Linked DNA regions of Homo sapiens: region 1 is linked to region 2. The links are contacts of gene promoters, found by promoter capture Hi-C in human tissues and cell types (Jung and others, 2019). All regions are on one chromosome and are shown on one strand. The core of a region is centred on a gene start or on the middle of the fragment in contact, and the rest is flanking DNA. Distances in the headings are between cores, read along the strand shown.

What was found. The method cuts DNA at HindIII sites, captures the fragments that hold promoters and counts their contacts. A contact is called where the count stands out against the background at its distance.
Region 1: a fragment that was not itself captured here is called in contact with the fragment with the promoter of ABHD12 in region 2 in 1 of the 25 tissues and cell types used here (lymphoblastoid cells).

Annotation. Positions count from the first base shown.
Region 1 is chr20:25,249,190-25,255,535 of GRCh38, reverse strand. All of the region lies in intron 1 of PYGB (glycogen phosphorylase B), which reads right to left. Among named protein-coding and RNA genes, the nearest start is that of PYGB, 4.3 kb to the right of the region's middle. The HindIII fragment of the contact is 6,845 bases long and covers 1-4,700 here.
Region 2 is chr20:25,385,550-25,393,078 of GRCh38, reverse strand. ABHD12 (abhydrolase domain containing 12, lysophospholipase) reads left to right here and starts at 2,244. Exons shown (of 13, transcript NM_001042472.3): 1 at 2,244-2,566. The coding sequence starts at 2,376. RefSeq lists silencers at 2,115-2,534, 2,575-2,624, 2,665-2,824, 2,995-3,154. The HindIII fragment of the contact is 14,157 bases long and covers 1-7,529 here.

The DNA.
Region 1 (6,346 bases), core at 29-2,528, 140 kb after region 2:
CCTCCCTGCCACCCAGGCACTATGGACAGAGCTGGCCCTGATAAGACACAGGAACACAGGCCACTGAGCCAGCCAGAGGCCAGTGGGCACCACGTTCCACCAGCCAGGCCTTGGAGCGGGGGCTCCCAGCCCCTCCAGACACAAAGGGGCCACCTCCCTGGGCTGGACCTGCTGGCTCCTGCTGGTGAGCTGAGCAGTCTCAGATACCATCCAGGGGAACCGAGGTCCTGTGGGAGGAGAGATGTTGAGGGGCCTCCCACCTGCCAGACGCTGAGGTTGGTCTTTGGTTTCCTTGACAGTGTCACAGTGTCCACTCCACTGTGTCTGAGGGGGCTTCTGGGGAGTTGCTCACAGAGCAATCTGATAATCCACTACTGTATCTGCTGTAAGGATGTGAGGATTAGCTAGCACATCTCTCAAGCTCCCAGCCTGTGATGTCACACGGTACTTTCTTAATGAATTAACTGCCAGGGAAACTTGGCTTCCCATGAACAGTGGGCAGGCTTCTCAACGTGGATCGTGGATTTCCTTCTCACTCCAGTACCTACGACTCAAACACAGGTCTGTTTGCTCAATTTTGAAAATGTCAAATGTAAAAGAATTATAGAACTTTAGAACTTATGGGGATCTTAAGAGATCACTTGGTTCTGTAGTAAACAAATTCCTTCTACACTCCATGACACACATTGCCACAAGTCACTGTCTCCCGCCTTCTATGCAATTAAGCTCCACAAAAAGTCTATTCAGTACTAATCCAGAGCCAGAAAGCGATGGGAGCCTTCTCCTTATCACTGACAGAGCCTAATCAACTTACACTAAGTGATCTGGACCGTGTCAAACTATATTTATACCTAGTGAGCTACCAGTCATCGTTTTTAAACACTACTTTAATCTTTCATTTTAACTGTTTGTAGGCCGAGAAATGCCACTTACCTATACCTAAAATTACATGTCATTCCTACTCAAGGTACTGTTGAAGACACTGTTAACCGAACTTCTCTTACTGTCCAATTACCTTTCTAAATCTGTGTTCACTTCTCTTCCCTTCACCGTATCCTAAGAATGCCATTCTGCATGGGTGAGAAAAAGCCAGCTCCTATCTCCTGCGGTTATTTGCTGCATGTCTTAGGATGCTTTGAATTTCCAAATGGCTTAAAGCTTTGATCCGTTTAATAATAATAATAATAAAAGATATAATCTGAAAAGACTTCTAAAGTTCTCCCAATTATTTATTTGTATTTTTTACAATTGTATTATTGCATTTTATTTGTATTTATTAAGCAGGACAGCTGGTGACACTGAAAAGATTTGCAGACAACAGCACTGTGTTGATTAAAATGTCCAGAGTTTAACTGCTCTACTGTGGGTGTGTAGGAGAGCTTCCCTGTTTTTCCGGAGTACTCACTGCCGTTTTTGGGGGTGAAGGGGCAACAAGGCTATGACTCAGTTTTTTTTTTTTTTTTTGAGACAGAGTCTCGCTCCGTTGCCCAGGCTGGAATGCAGTGGCGTGATCTCAGCTCACTGCAACCTGCTCCTCCCAGGTTCAAGCAATCCTCCTGCCTCAGTCCCCCAAGTACCTGGGACTACAGGCGCCCACCACCATGCCTGGCTAATTTTTGTATTTTTAGTAAAGAAGGGGTTTCACCTTGTTGGTCAGGCTGGTTCTTACTTTCAAATGATTCGGAGAAAAATGAACTTACAGCGACAAAATGACCTAACAAGTGTGTTGCAATGTTTAACATCTGGGGAATCCGGATGAAGCGTCAACAGGAATTACAAGAAATCTCTGTATTATTCTTGCAACTTTTTAAGGGTCTGAAATCACATAAAGTTTAAAAGGAAATATGGCTGAGATGTGGAGGTGAGGTCGGTTACCTTATTTTATTTTATTTTATTTTATTTTATTTTATTTAGGCAGAGTTGCCCAGGCTGGAGTGCAATGGCGCAGTCTTGGCTCCCTGGTTCAAGCAATTCTCCTGTCTCAGCCTCCCGAATAGCTGGGACTGCAGATGTCCACCACCACGCCCGGCTAATTTTTGTATTTTTAATAGAGACCAGGTTTCACCATATTGGTCAGGCTGGTCTCGAACTTTTGACCTCAGGTGATCCACCTGCCTCAGCCTCCCAAAGTGCTGGGATTACAGGTGTGAGTCACCACGCCCGGCCATATTTTATAAAGCCACCACGGCCCCTGTGGATTAGTCAGGGTTCTCCAGAGACACAGAACAGTAAGGTATGTGTAGAGAGAGACAGATTTAAGAAATTGGCTCAAGTGATTCTGAAGTGCAAGGCCACAACCTACAGAGTGGGGTGGGCCAGCAGGCTGGAGACCCAGGCAAGCTGCAGCTCTGGTGCAAGGTAGCTGGTGGCAGGGTTTGTTCTGCAAGGCCTTCCCCCATGGGAGGCTGTGAAACTGTGATGTAATGAGATATACTTATTTGTTCTTCCTGGCCTGTGCTCCTAACACCCTTGTAATTTCCTAAGTGATAAGAGCAATAAAAATGAAAGAAGTGTCTTTTGTTATTCATAACAAGTCCCTTTCAACCACGCCTGATGTGGTCACCAAAAGGTGACTTTTGGCAAGCCCCTCAGGGCAGAGGCTGGCTGCCAGGGGAACCAGCTCTAATTAGAGGGTTGGAAGTTTCAGGCCCACCCCTCCCGCCAGCCCCAACCTCCAGTGAAGGGAGAGGGGCTAAAGGCTGAGCTCATCACCAATGGCCAATAATCACACTAGGTAACTGCGGCCTCCATAAAATCCCCAACTGAAGGGGATGGAAGAGCTTCCTTCCAGTTCAGTGAATCCTGGAGGTGCTGGGACAGTGGCACCTGCAGAGGGAATGGAAGCCCCTGCACCCTCCCTCAGACCTGCCCTCTGCATATCTTCTATCTGGCTGTTCCTGGGTTGTATTCCTTGTAAGTAATTGGTAAACGCAAGTGAAGTGTTTCCCTGAGTTTCATGAGCCATTCTGGCAAATCATCAAACCTGAGGAGGCTGTCGGTCAGAGGTCAGAAGGGAGGTCCTGATGTGCAACTGACATCTGGGGTGGAGAAGTCTTGTGGGACTGAGCCTTTAGCCTGTGGGATCCGAGGCTACATCTAGGTAGACAGCATCAGAACGGAACTGAATTGTAAGATGCTCAGTCAGTGTGGGAAACACCACCCCCCGACCCCCCCAGAGGGACATCCACGTTACTATCTAGGCACAACAGCCAAGTTGACACATAAAACCAGCCACCACAGCCTGCAAGGGCAGAGGCCAGGCTGTCTTCTGCAGAAAATGAAGGCACACACTGTAGGCTTCTCCATCTGCTAAAATGACAGCTGAGGCCTACCTTCCAAGTGGCTAGCTGTCAGCAACACAAAACAGCACCCACCATCAGCTACTGGTCAGAGAAAATGACTTTGAGCGATCTGCTGTCAGGGAAGCCTGCCCAGGAGATGCAAGCTCAACTTCACACATAAAAGTGGAAATACATCAGAAAAATTGGGAGTGTTAGGATTCCGGAGGCTGGTACCACAACTGACTAATTAAAACAAATCCCAGAAGTGGGGATCACAGAGCAGAAGGGTCTGCAAAACACTTCTCTAGATCATCTTCTTTAACTCCTGGGTCCAGCCAAACCAAAAGATTAATCGTATTTCATTGTGTTTATCTCATTAGGAATATTTAGGACAGCAGTGTGGGCCCCAAGGTAGAGCTGCTTTTCCTTAATCTGTGTTGTAGTCATGCCAGGAGCTTATGGGAAGAGTCTCAAAAACTGATTGTTACATCCACTGCAGGGGTGCTGCAGGTCAGTGGCTCAGCACATCGACAACACAGCTTCACAAAGGCCCACAGAATAAACCGTGCAACTGTCCTTTCAGGATGTTATAGAAGGGATCCCGTGACTCTCATAACTGGGCATGGGCTGCTTTCACTGCCAGGATCCTGGTCTGTGTTTTGTGTCCTGACCCTCACTGTCCCACCCCAACCCTCACTCTGAGGCCTTCTAATGTGAACCTTTTGTGCTGTATCTAGCATAAGCATCCTCAAATTCTCTCTGGATAGAGATGGAATGTCAATTCAATATGAAATAGAAACATTTTAACTCTAACATTTCAGAATGGCAACAGACTTCGGAAACATCACCAGCTTGATTCCCCTCATTTTAAAGATGAGAAAACTGAGGCCAATAATGGCAAAGAAATCCGCCCAAGCCCACAGTTGCACAGACCGAATGGAAAGGCCAGGATGAAAAGGAGCGTGGAATCACGCACACCCTTTCTTCTCCATGCAGCGCAATCCCAGGCTCTGCAGCTTCAGGTTGGACTCTCCTTGCCACCTTGCCACCACTTCAGAGAATCCATTAAATGTCTTCATGACCAACCGCCACCTCTTGCCAAGCACAAAGCTCTCCATGTTAGCCAGATGTTTTGACGTGCTGATTTGCCAAGCATGGCAAAGCTTGACAAATCTTCCTCTGAACACCCCAACTTCTACTCTTTCGCTATGTACCACAAATAAAGTGCTAAGAGTTATGAAACAATAGGTTCAGTATAATGTTATTTTATGTATTAAAAACAAGTTTCTGCCAATACGGAAAAAACAATGTAGAACACAAAATATTTACAGCACAAAGTGGGCGATAGAAGTGGGTTACAGGATTACAGTTAATTTTTTTCCTTCTGGCTTATCTATATTTTCTAATTTTTCCTCCAGTAATAATTTTTCCTTCAGGACTTGCATAATTTAAAAAAAGACAAAAATAACAATAAAAGCGTTCTATTTAGGAGCTCTAGAGTGTCACATTACCACAGTCTGCAGTGTGCCGGTGAATGTCTGAGGTCATTTCTGGCTGAGGGGGAGGCACAGCAGTTATTTTCTTGGGAGCACACCTCCTCTCATTGGCTCTGGTGGGACTGGTTGCTGGTCCATCACCAGCAAGCATGTAACTTTTCCAAAGAAAGGATTGCAAGCTTATTTTCATCATGAATTAGCGAAAGAAGCAGTTAAATCCCAATTTTCCATGTCCTTCCTATTCAGAATAGGCACACAGCTTATTTACACACTGTGAGATCTAAAAGTTTACAACTTTACGACTTACAGACTGTGCGGTTTAAGAGAAAGGTTTCCACCCAGAGCCACCACACGTAGACAATCAAAAGAGATCTCACGGAGGATCAAAAAACCTGTTTTGTTGCAGGGACTATCTTGTTCATGAAGGTCATTTCCGTAATCCCTGAGCCCATCGCTGGCCTCTCCAGGATGTGATTATACATAAATACTCCAATGGGCACCCTAAGGTGTAGAGCTGAGTCCTGGTCCAGCTCCAAGGAAATGCCCTTGAATGTGAAGGCAGAGCTATGTCCTTGCCATCCGCCACTTAGACAATAAAAATGATGTTGCGGGTCGGGTGCGTTGGCTCACGCCTGTAACTCCTGCACTTTGGGAGGCCGAGGCGGGCGGATCACGAGGTCAGGAGTTTGAGACCAGCCTGGCCAACATGGTGAAACCCCGTCTCTACTAAAGATACAAAAAATTAGCCGGGCGTGGTGGTAGGCGCCTGTAATCCCAGCTACTTGGGAGGCTAAGGCAGGAGAATTGCTTGAACCCGGGAGGCGGAGGTTGCACTGAGCCGAGATCGCGCCACTGCACTCTAGCTTCACGCTACAGGGCAAGACTCAGAATTAAAAAAAAAAAAAAAATGGTGCTGTGCATCAGAACTCTCCCAACAGCAGGGAATTCTGGGGGAGCCACTGCTTCTTGGCTGCTTTTCCTGGCAAAGTCATCCCAAGCCCTTGTTATAACCTGTTTTGGCCATTCGTTGCCACTTCTATGTTTTGCATACCAAATATGAAGAGCCCCAGTTGGTATTCTAACAAATCTGTCCCTTTTACCATCTCCATTTTAGAAAAAAGAATGTCCCAGAATAAGTTTGGAAAAGCAGTCAATCTCTTAGCAATTACCGTATTAAACATATCTTAATGCCCTACAAAAATATTCTAAAATACCATCCATAAAGCAAGTGCTCACTGCCTAGATGTACACTGCAAGTAAAATCTTTGCCAAGTGGCTTCAGGTCTGGAAGTGTGTCTTTTCCTCACCAGTTCTCCCTCTACGTTAGTGTAGTAGAAAGACAATTCTCCATGGTCAAGAGTTTAAAAGCAAACGACAACAACAAAAAACTGGCAACAGGGGGCTGTGCAAGACTACCATGTACCTATCAAACTGAAAACTACCATCCTATCCATTGACCTGCAAAGCTGTTTATCAGTGAAAAAGTTACAAATGTTTACGAATGAAACAGAAAATCTAAAAAACTGTATGTGCATTATACTTTTTAAAAATGTGTATGTATATTTAGGA
Region 2 (7,529 bases), core at 995-3,494:
TCCTAGATTTCCAATCTCTCCAGGATGTGTTACTACATCACTATAAAGAATTTATAATTTACATTCCATAGTATGTTTGTTTGTTTATTTTGAGATGGAGTCCTGCTCTGTCACCCAGGCTAGAGTGCAGTGGTGCAATCTCGGCTCACTGCAACCTCCGAATCCCAGCATCCCGGGTTCAAGCAATTCTCCTGCCTCAGCCTCCCAAGTAGATGGGATTACAGGCGTGCGCCACCACACCCAGCTAATTTTTTTGTTTGTTTGTTTTTGAGAGGAGTCTCCCTCTGTCGCCAGGCTGGAGTGCAGTGGCACAATTTCGGCTCACCACAACCTCCGACTCCCTGGTTCAAGCGATTCTCCTGCCTCAGCTTCCCAAGTAGCTGGGAATACAGGCACGCGCCACCATGCCCAGCTAATTTTTTTTTTTTTTTTTGAGACAGAAGTTTGCTTTTGTCCCCAAGACTGGGGTGCAATGGTGTGATCTCAGCTCACTGCAACCTCCGCCTCCCAAGTTCAAGCGATTCTCCTGCCTCAGCCTCCCAATTAGCTGGGATTATAGGGTTGTGCCACCATACCTGGCTAATTTTTGTGTTTTTAGTAGAGACGGGGTTTCACTACATTGGCCAGGATAGCCTCAATCTCCTGACCTCGTGATCCGCCCGCCTCGGCCTCCCAAAGTGCTGGGCTCACAGGCGTGAGACACCTCGCCCAGCCTTTTTTTTTTTTTTTTTTTTAAACAGAGTCTTGCTCTGTCACCCAGGCTTGTGCCACCACACCCGGCTAATTTTTGTATTTTTAGTAGAGACGGAGTTTCACCATGCTGGCCAGGCTGATCTGGCCTCCATCTCCTGTGCTTAAATGATCCACCCACCTCCGCCTCCCAAAGTGCTGAGATTACAGGCATGAGCCACTGAGCTCGGCCCATAATGTTTTTAAAAAGTATATCTGGAGATATTGACACAATTATGAATGCAGGCTGTAACACTTAGTAATATGGTCAATAAATTATTTTGCAATTTCAAAGTATCATTACAAAACTAATTTAAAAAGCAGCCGGGCGCGGTGGCTCATGCCTGTAATCCCAGCACTTTGGGAGGCCGAGGCGGGCGGATCACGGGATCGAGAGATCGAGACCATCCTGGCTACACAGTGAAACCCTGTCTCTACTAAAAATACAAAAAAATTAGCCGGGCATGGTAGCCGGCGCCTGTAGTCCCAGCTACTTGGGAGGCTGAGGCAGGAGACTGGCGTGAACCTGGGAGGCGGAGTTTGCAGTGAGCCGAGATCGCGCCACTGCACTCCAGCCTGGGCGAGAGCGAGACTCCGTCTCAAAAAAAAAAAAAAAAAAAAAGAAAAAACTAATATAAAAAGCTGTTGAATTTCTAAACGCATTTCCAATTGACCTTTATCAATTGCCAATAGTTTTCAAAGTGACAAATGCTGAAATTTCTAACGTTACTTTGGAATAAGCAAATATCTCTCTTTGTTATAGATCATCTGTAAAACTAATGCCATATTGAAGAAAGCCAAAGTTATAAAACTAAATTTGTGAAACAGCCCTTTATTCTTTCCTTTTCTCTTTCTAGGATGGGTTGAATTAGTACTAAATTTGGGTTTCATAAGGGCGAATTTATCTTTGAAATGGATTTTCCTCCCATCAGGTAGTCTTAATTGCTTTATAAAAATCTAAAATCTAACACAGGTTTTTAAAAAGTAAATTTTTCAAGCAGTTCATTTCCTGATGTTCGGCCCAAAAGTAAACACTGAGTATATACATTTACTTCAAATTAAAAACTGACGACCGGAAAGCATACTTTTAAAGGTAATGTCCTTGTGGAAAAAGAATTAAGAATCACGAGAACGGAACTGCTATTTGCTACCTCTGGTTTTCCGTTCACAGAAGCACGAGGAGCCCAGCGCTGCGGCTCTGCCTCGCTGGGCCACCCCTTTCGGGCACGACCGGGAGCGGGTGCTCCTCACACCGAGCGCCCGGGCGAGCACAGCTGCAGCCTGCGGATGGAGCCCAGAGCCCTGCCCTGCAGATGACGCGCCGCTGCAGCTTCGCCCACCCTCCCACAAAATGGCTGCGGGTGGCGCCAGGGATGCTGGGCGCGCGCTCCTTGGAACTAGAGAGGAGGTGGCCGGGGCGGGGCCGGGGGAGGGGGGTAGGGCAGAGCCGGCGGGAGCCCGGCGCTGATTGGCCGGCCTGGCTGGCGGGCCCCCGCCGCTGGTTCGTAGCCGGCGCAGCGGCCTGGGCTGGGATGTGAGGAGCGGCGGGTTCCGGGCTCCGGGCTCTGGGTGGCGGCGGCTGTGAGCGGCGGCACTGCGGCGCAGGCCAGCGGGCGCCGTCGGCGGCTGGCCCTGTCGGCCGCGGGATGAGGAAGCGGACCGAGCCCGTCGCCTTGGAGCATGAGCGCTGCGCCGCCGCGGGCTCGTCCTCCTCCGGCTCGGCCGCCGCGGCGCTGGACGCCGACTGCCGCCTGAAGCAGAACCTACGCCTGACGGGCCCGGCGGCGGCTGAGCCGCGCTGCGCAGCCGACGCGGGAATGAAGCGGGCGCTGGGCAGGTGAGGCTTCGCGCGGAGCGGGGGGGGGGGGGGGGCCGGTCCCTCACTTTGCGCAGGTGCGTCCCGCAGGGGGCCGCGGTACCTCCCAGCCCCTCCCAGAGTGGCCGTCCGCCCGATCCGCGGCCGCCCCCGTCCGCGCCTGTGTCCCGCATTTGGCCCGCGGCAGCCCCACCCCCGCTCCCTTCCCCAGGCACCGCGGCGGGAGCGCCCTGCCCTGCCGCTGACCCCCTGTGTCCTGCTCCGGCCCTCTCGCCAGGCACTCCTGGCCTAGCCTTGCACCCCGACCCTTTCCCGGGGAAGCCGGGGGGACCCTTACGCTGGGGGCTTGGCGCCGCCCGAAGTCATGACCCCGCGTGGGAGAGCAGGGTAGGGGGTGGGGAGTCCTTGGAAGATCCCTGGACGCCAGGCACAGCAGAGGCGGGAGGCAGAGGGGCCGGCGCCAGACCCTGAGAGCGCTGGGGCCCACTCGGACCTCCTCCTCCTGCTCTGCATCAGGCCCCACACCGAGCGCCCGGGCGGGCGCCCCTCGGGCTGGGCTGCGTGCGCGGAGCCTTACTGGCGCCTTGGGCCCTCGGCGGCTCTCCCCGGTAACTAGGGTCGGGGGCGTGCGTCGCTCAGAACTCGGGGACCTTTGGGGAAGGGCTCAGTGGGCGGCGGGGTGCTAGGGGAAGGAGGGACTCGGAGCATCGCAGCCGTCGGAGGGAAACCTGCCCTTCGCTCTGCTGGTGATGGTTCGTGGTACTTGAAATCTGTCCGCACAAGTTCGCCTCCTTGGGAATCATCTCGCAGTCCTGAGTCGTTTGGTTATTGGCGTTCAATAACCTTTGGGTTATTGGGTAGAAGATGAATGCGTTTATATAAAGCCACTTTCAAAACTGAGATGGGAACGTGTTTCATAGGGACAGATTTCTCCTCCCATCTGCTGGTTTCCTAATTATCTGGCTGTTGTAGAACGTAGCATTCCTGACAGCTTTGAAGCCTTGCTACTTCGTGGTGGTTTGAAGAAGTTACTATATGATGATCTCAGGCGTTGTAGCAGAGGCACTTCTTTTTTGACCATCTGGAATGCCCTTAGTTGACGCTGGCCACTTGAGTGTAAAATATGCGTATCGCTCCTAAGGAAAAGTAGAATTTCAACTTCATTGCTTAAAAAAATCATGAAATTAAACTATAGACACTTCTAAGTCGATGGTTTGACAGAAGGGCGGAGACTGATAGTTTTGTGTCTTTATGTGTAAAATTATGTAGCATCTGATCAATATCTTTTGTGAAACTAATCTGTTCTCTTTGCTATGGAAAGATTTATCTGCATTAAAAACTCATGATTTAACTTTAATACAATTTTATTAACAGACATGGCATAACGCTTAGATAAATTGGAAAATTCTTCCTTCGAAAAAATCAAATTGCCGGGCGCGGTGGCTCACGCCTGTAATGCCAGCACTCTGGGAGACCGAGGCGGGCAGATTATCAGAGGTCAGGAGTTCGAGACCAGCTTGACCAACATGGAGAAACCCCGTCTGTACTAAAAATACAAAATTAGCCGGGCGTGGTGGCGCATATGCCTGTAATCCCAGCTACTCGGGAGGCTGAGGCGGGAGAATCGCTTGAATCTGGGAGGCGGAGGTTGCGGTGAGCCAAGATCTCGCCGAACCGAGATCGCACCAGTGCACTCCAGCCTGGACAACAAGAACGGAACTCCGTCTCAAAAAAAAAAAAAAAAAAGAAAAAATCAAATTGTTTTACACAACGTTTGGGGAAACAGCGGCGACCTGGCACCTTCTTGAAGAATGTACTGTATTAAAATTACCCGATTAATTTTTATTTTCGTGTCAGGACAAAGAGAGACATTCCAGTGGTGTCCATATCCTTTGGATAAGCAAAAGGCTGTTAGGGGTAAAAAGCAAAACAAAGGGAAAGAAGACCAAATTTGTTAGGTTGTCTTCCTTCCCAGCTGGCTGTCTCAGACATCCTTGAGCTTTCTTCTCTTCCTCGCTCAGGCTCTGCGCCACCATCACCTCCTCCTCACTGAGGCCTTCTTAGACCAGCCCACTCCTGTCGACCTTGTTATCACTCGAGATTGTAATTTTTGCTCGTGTGCCTCCCCCGCAACCAGAATGGAAGCGCCATGAGAACAGGAGCTTTGTTTTCTCCACTTAAGTATCTCCAGTACCTGGCACGTAGTAGGTAGCAGAAAATACTTGTTGAATGAACAAATATCCATAGAACAGATATCCATTGCGCCACAGAGCCGGCTCGTTTGTGTCTTTTATGATCCTTCTTTGGATCCTTCCGCACATTTTTTAAACTCTTTATTGTCGACATACGTGGAAGTAGAGAAGACAATCTAATGAGCCTTCTTCATGTGTCCATCACTTAAAAGTTTTCAGTGTTTAGCCAATTTTGAATCATCCATCCCTCTTCTCTTTTTTTTTGTAGGATGAAGGATTGGATTTTTTTTTTTTTTTTTTTTTGAGAAGGAGTCTCGCTTTGTCGCCCAGGCTGGAGTGCAGTGGCAATCTCGGCTCACTGCAACCTCCACCTCCCAGGTTCAAGCAATTCTCCTGCCCCAGCCTCCTGAGTAGCTGGGATTACAGGCGCCCGTCACCGTGCCTGGCTAACTTTTGTAGTTTTAGTAGAGACGGGGTTTCACCATGTTGGCCAGGCTGGTCTCGAACTCGTGACCTCGTGATCCACCCACCTCGGCCTCCCAAATTGCTGGGATTACAGGCGTGAGCCACAGCGCCCGGCCTGGAATATTTTTAAACAATTTTTTTTTTAAGAAAGTTCCGTCACCCAGGCTGGAGCACAGTGGCATGATCATGGCCCACTGCAGCCCAGACCTCCTGGGCTCAGGCGATCCTCCCATATCGATGCTGGGTGTATGCCACCACTCCTGGTTAATTTTTTTTTTTTTTTTTTAATAGAGATGAAGTCTCACTATGTTGCCCCCAGGCTGGTCTTGAATTTCTGGCTTCAAGCGATCCTTCTTCCTGGCCTCCCAAAGTGTTAGGTATGAAATACCGTGCCAGGCCTAAATTCTCCTGCCTCAGCCTCCCGAGAAGGTGGGATTACAGGCATGTGCCACCACACATGGCTAATTTTTGTATTTTTTGTAGAGATGGGGTTTCACCATGTTGGCCAGACTGGTCTCCAACTCGTGACTTCAAGTGATCTCCCTGTCACGGCCTCCCAAAGTGTTGGGATTACAGGTGTGAGCCACCATGTCTGACCTCTTTTTCTTTTCTGATTGCATTGTATTTCTAGAACAAAGTTAAATAATAGGGATGACACTGAGTAACTTGTTTCATTCCTGACTTTAATGAGAATGCTGTTAGTGTTTTTGCCATTTAAGTGCCATGCTGGGGTGTGTTGCTAATGTTGTGGGGAGCTTTTTGTTTTTGTTCCTGCTCCCTCACTGATGTTTTTAAAATAAAAAATGGTGATTGAGTTTTCTCAAATGCCAGTGTACATCTGTGGAATGATCATAGAGATTTTCTTCTTTTATCTGTTAACATAATGAGTTATAGTAATGGATTTATATTATTGAATCATCATTGTATTCCTGGGATAAACTCTCTTATTGTATAGCCAGATTCTATTTATTCATTTATTTTTTATTTTTATTTTTTGAGGCGGGGTTTCACTCTGTTGCCCAGGCTGGAGTGCAGTGGCACGATCTCGGGTCACTGCAACTTCTGCCTCCCAGGTTCAAGCAATTCTCTGGCCTCAGCCTCCCGGGTAGCTGGGATTACAGGCACCTGCCACCATGCCCGGCTAATTTTTGTATTTTTAATGGAGACGGGATTTTGCCATGTTGACCAGGCTGGACTCGACCTACTGACCTCAGATAATCTGCCTGCCTCAGCCTCCCAAAATGCTGGGATTATAAGGCGTGAGCCACCGCACCTGGCCTATTTATTAATATTTTATTTTGAAATTTTACATCATGAGGCCGGGCTCGGTGGCTCACGCCTGTAATCCCAGCACTTTGGGAGGCCGAGGCAGGCTGATCACGAGGTCAGGAGATCGAGACCATCCTGGCTGACGGGTGAAACCCCGTCTCTACTAAAAAATACAAAAAAAATTAGCCAGGCGTGGTGGCGGGCGCCTGTAGTCCCAGCTACTCAGGAGGCTGAGGTAGGAGAATGGCATGAATCCGGGAGGTGGAGCTTGCAGCGAGCCCAGATTGCACCACTGCACTCCAGCCTGGGCGACAGAGCAAGACTCCATCTCAAAAAAAAAAAAAGAAAGAAAAAGAAATTTTACATCATTTGTGAGAATAGTCTGTAATTTTCTCTTATGCAACCTTTATCAAGTTGTTTTAGTGTTTTCTATAGCTTTGTAAAAAGTTTCTTACATAACATTTTATTCTAAACTTTTATTTTTATTATTATTATTATTATTTTTTTGAGACGGAGTCTCGCTGCATCACCCAGGCTGGAGTGCAGTGGCGCGATCTTGGCTCACTGCAAGCTTTGCCTCCCGGGTTCACGCCATTCTCCTGCCTCAGCCTCCCAAGTAGCTGGGACTACAGGTGCCCACCAACACACCTGGCTAATTTTTTGTATTTTTTTTAGTAGAGACGGGGTTTCACCGTGTTAGCCAGGATGGTCTCAATCTCCTGACCTCGTGATCCGCCTGCCTTGGACTCCGAAAGTGCTGGGATTACAGGTGTCAGCCACCGCACCCGGCCATTTTATTCTAAACTTTTAGCCAGCTTAAGAATTTTTTAAATTATTTGTTTAAAATTTGGTAGAAATTCTCTTGTAAAACTGTCTAAGCCTGGTGCCTTTCTATTTATTTATTTATTTATTTATTTAAATTTTTTGGTACAGGCAGGTCTTGCCACGTTGCCTAGGCTGGTCTTGAACTTCTCTCTCAAGCAGTCCTTCCACCTCTGTCCCCCAAAGTATTGGGATTATAGGCATGAGCCACCACCCTAGCCAGTGCTGTTTCAGAA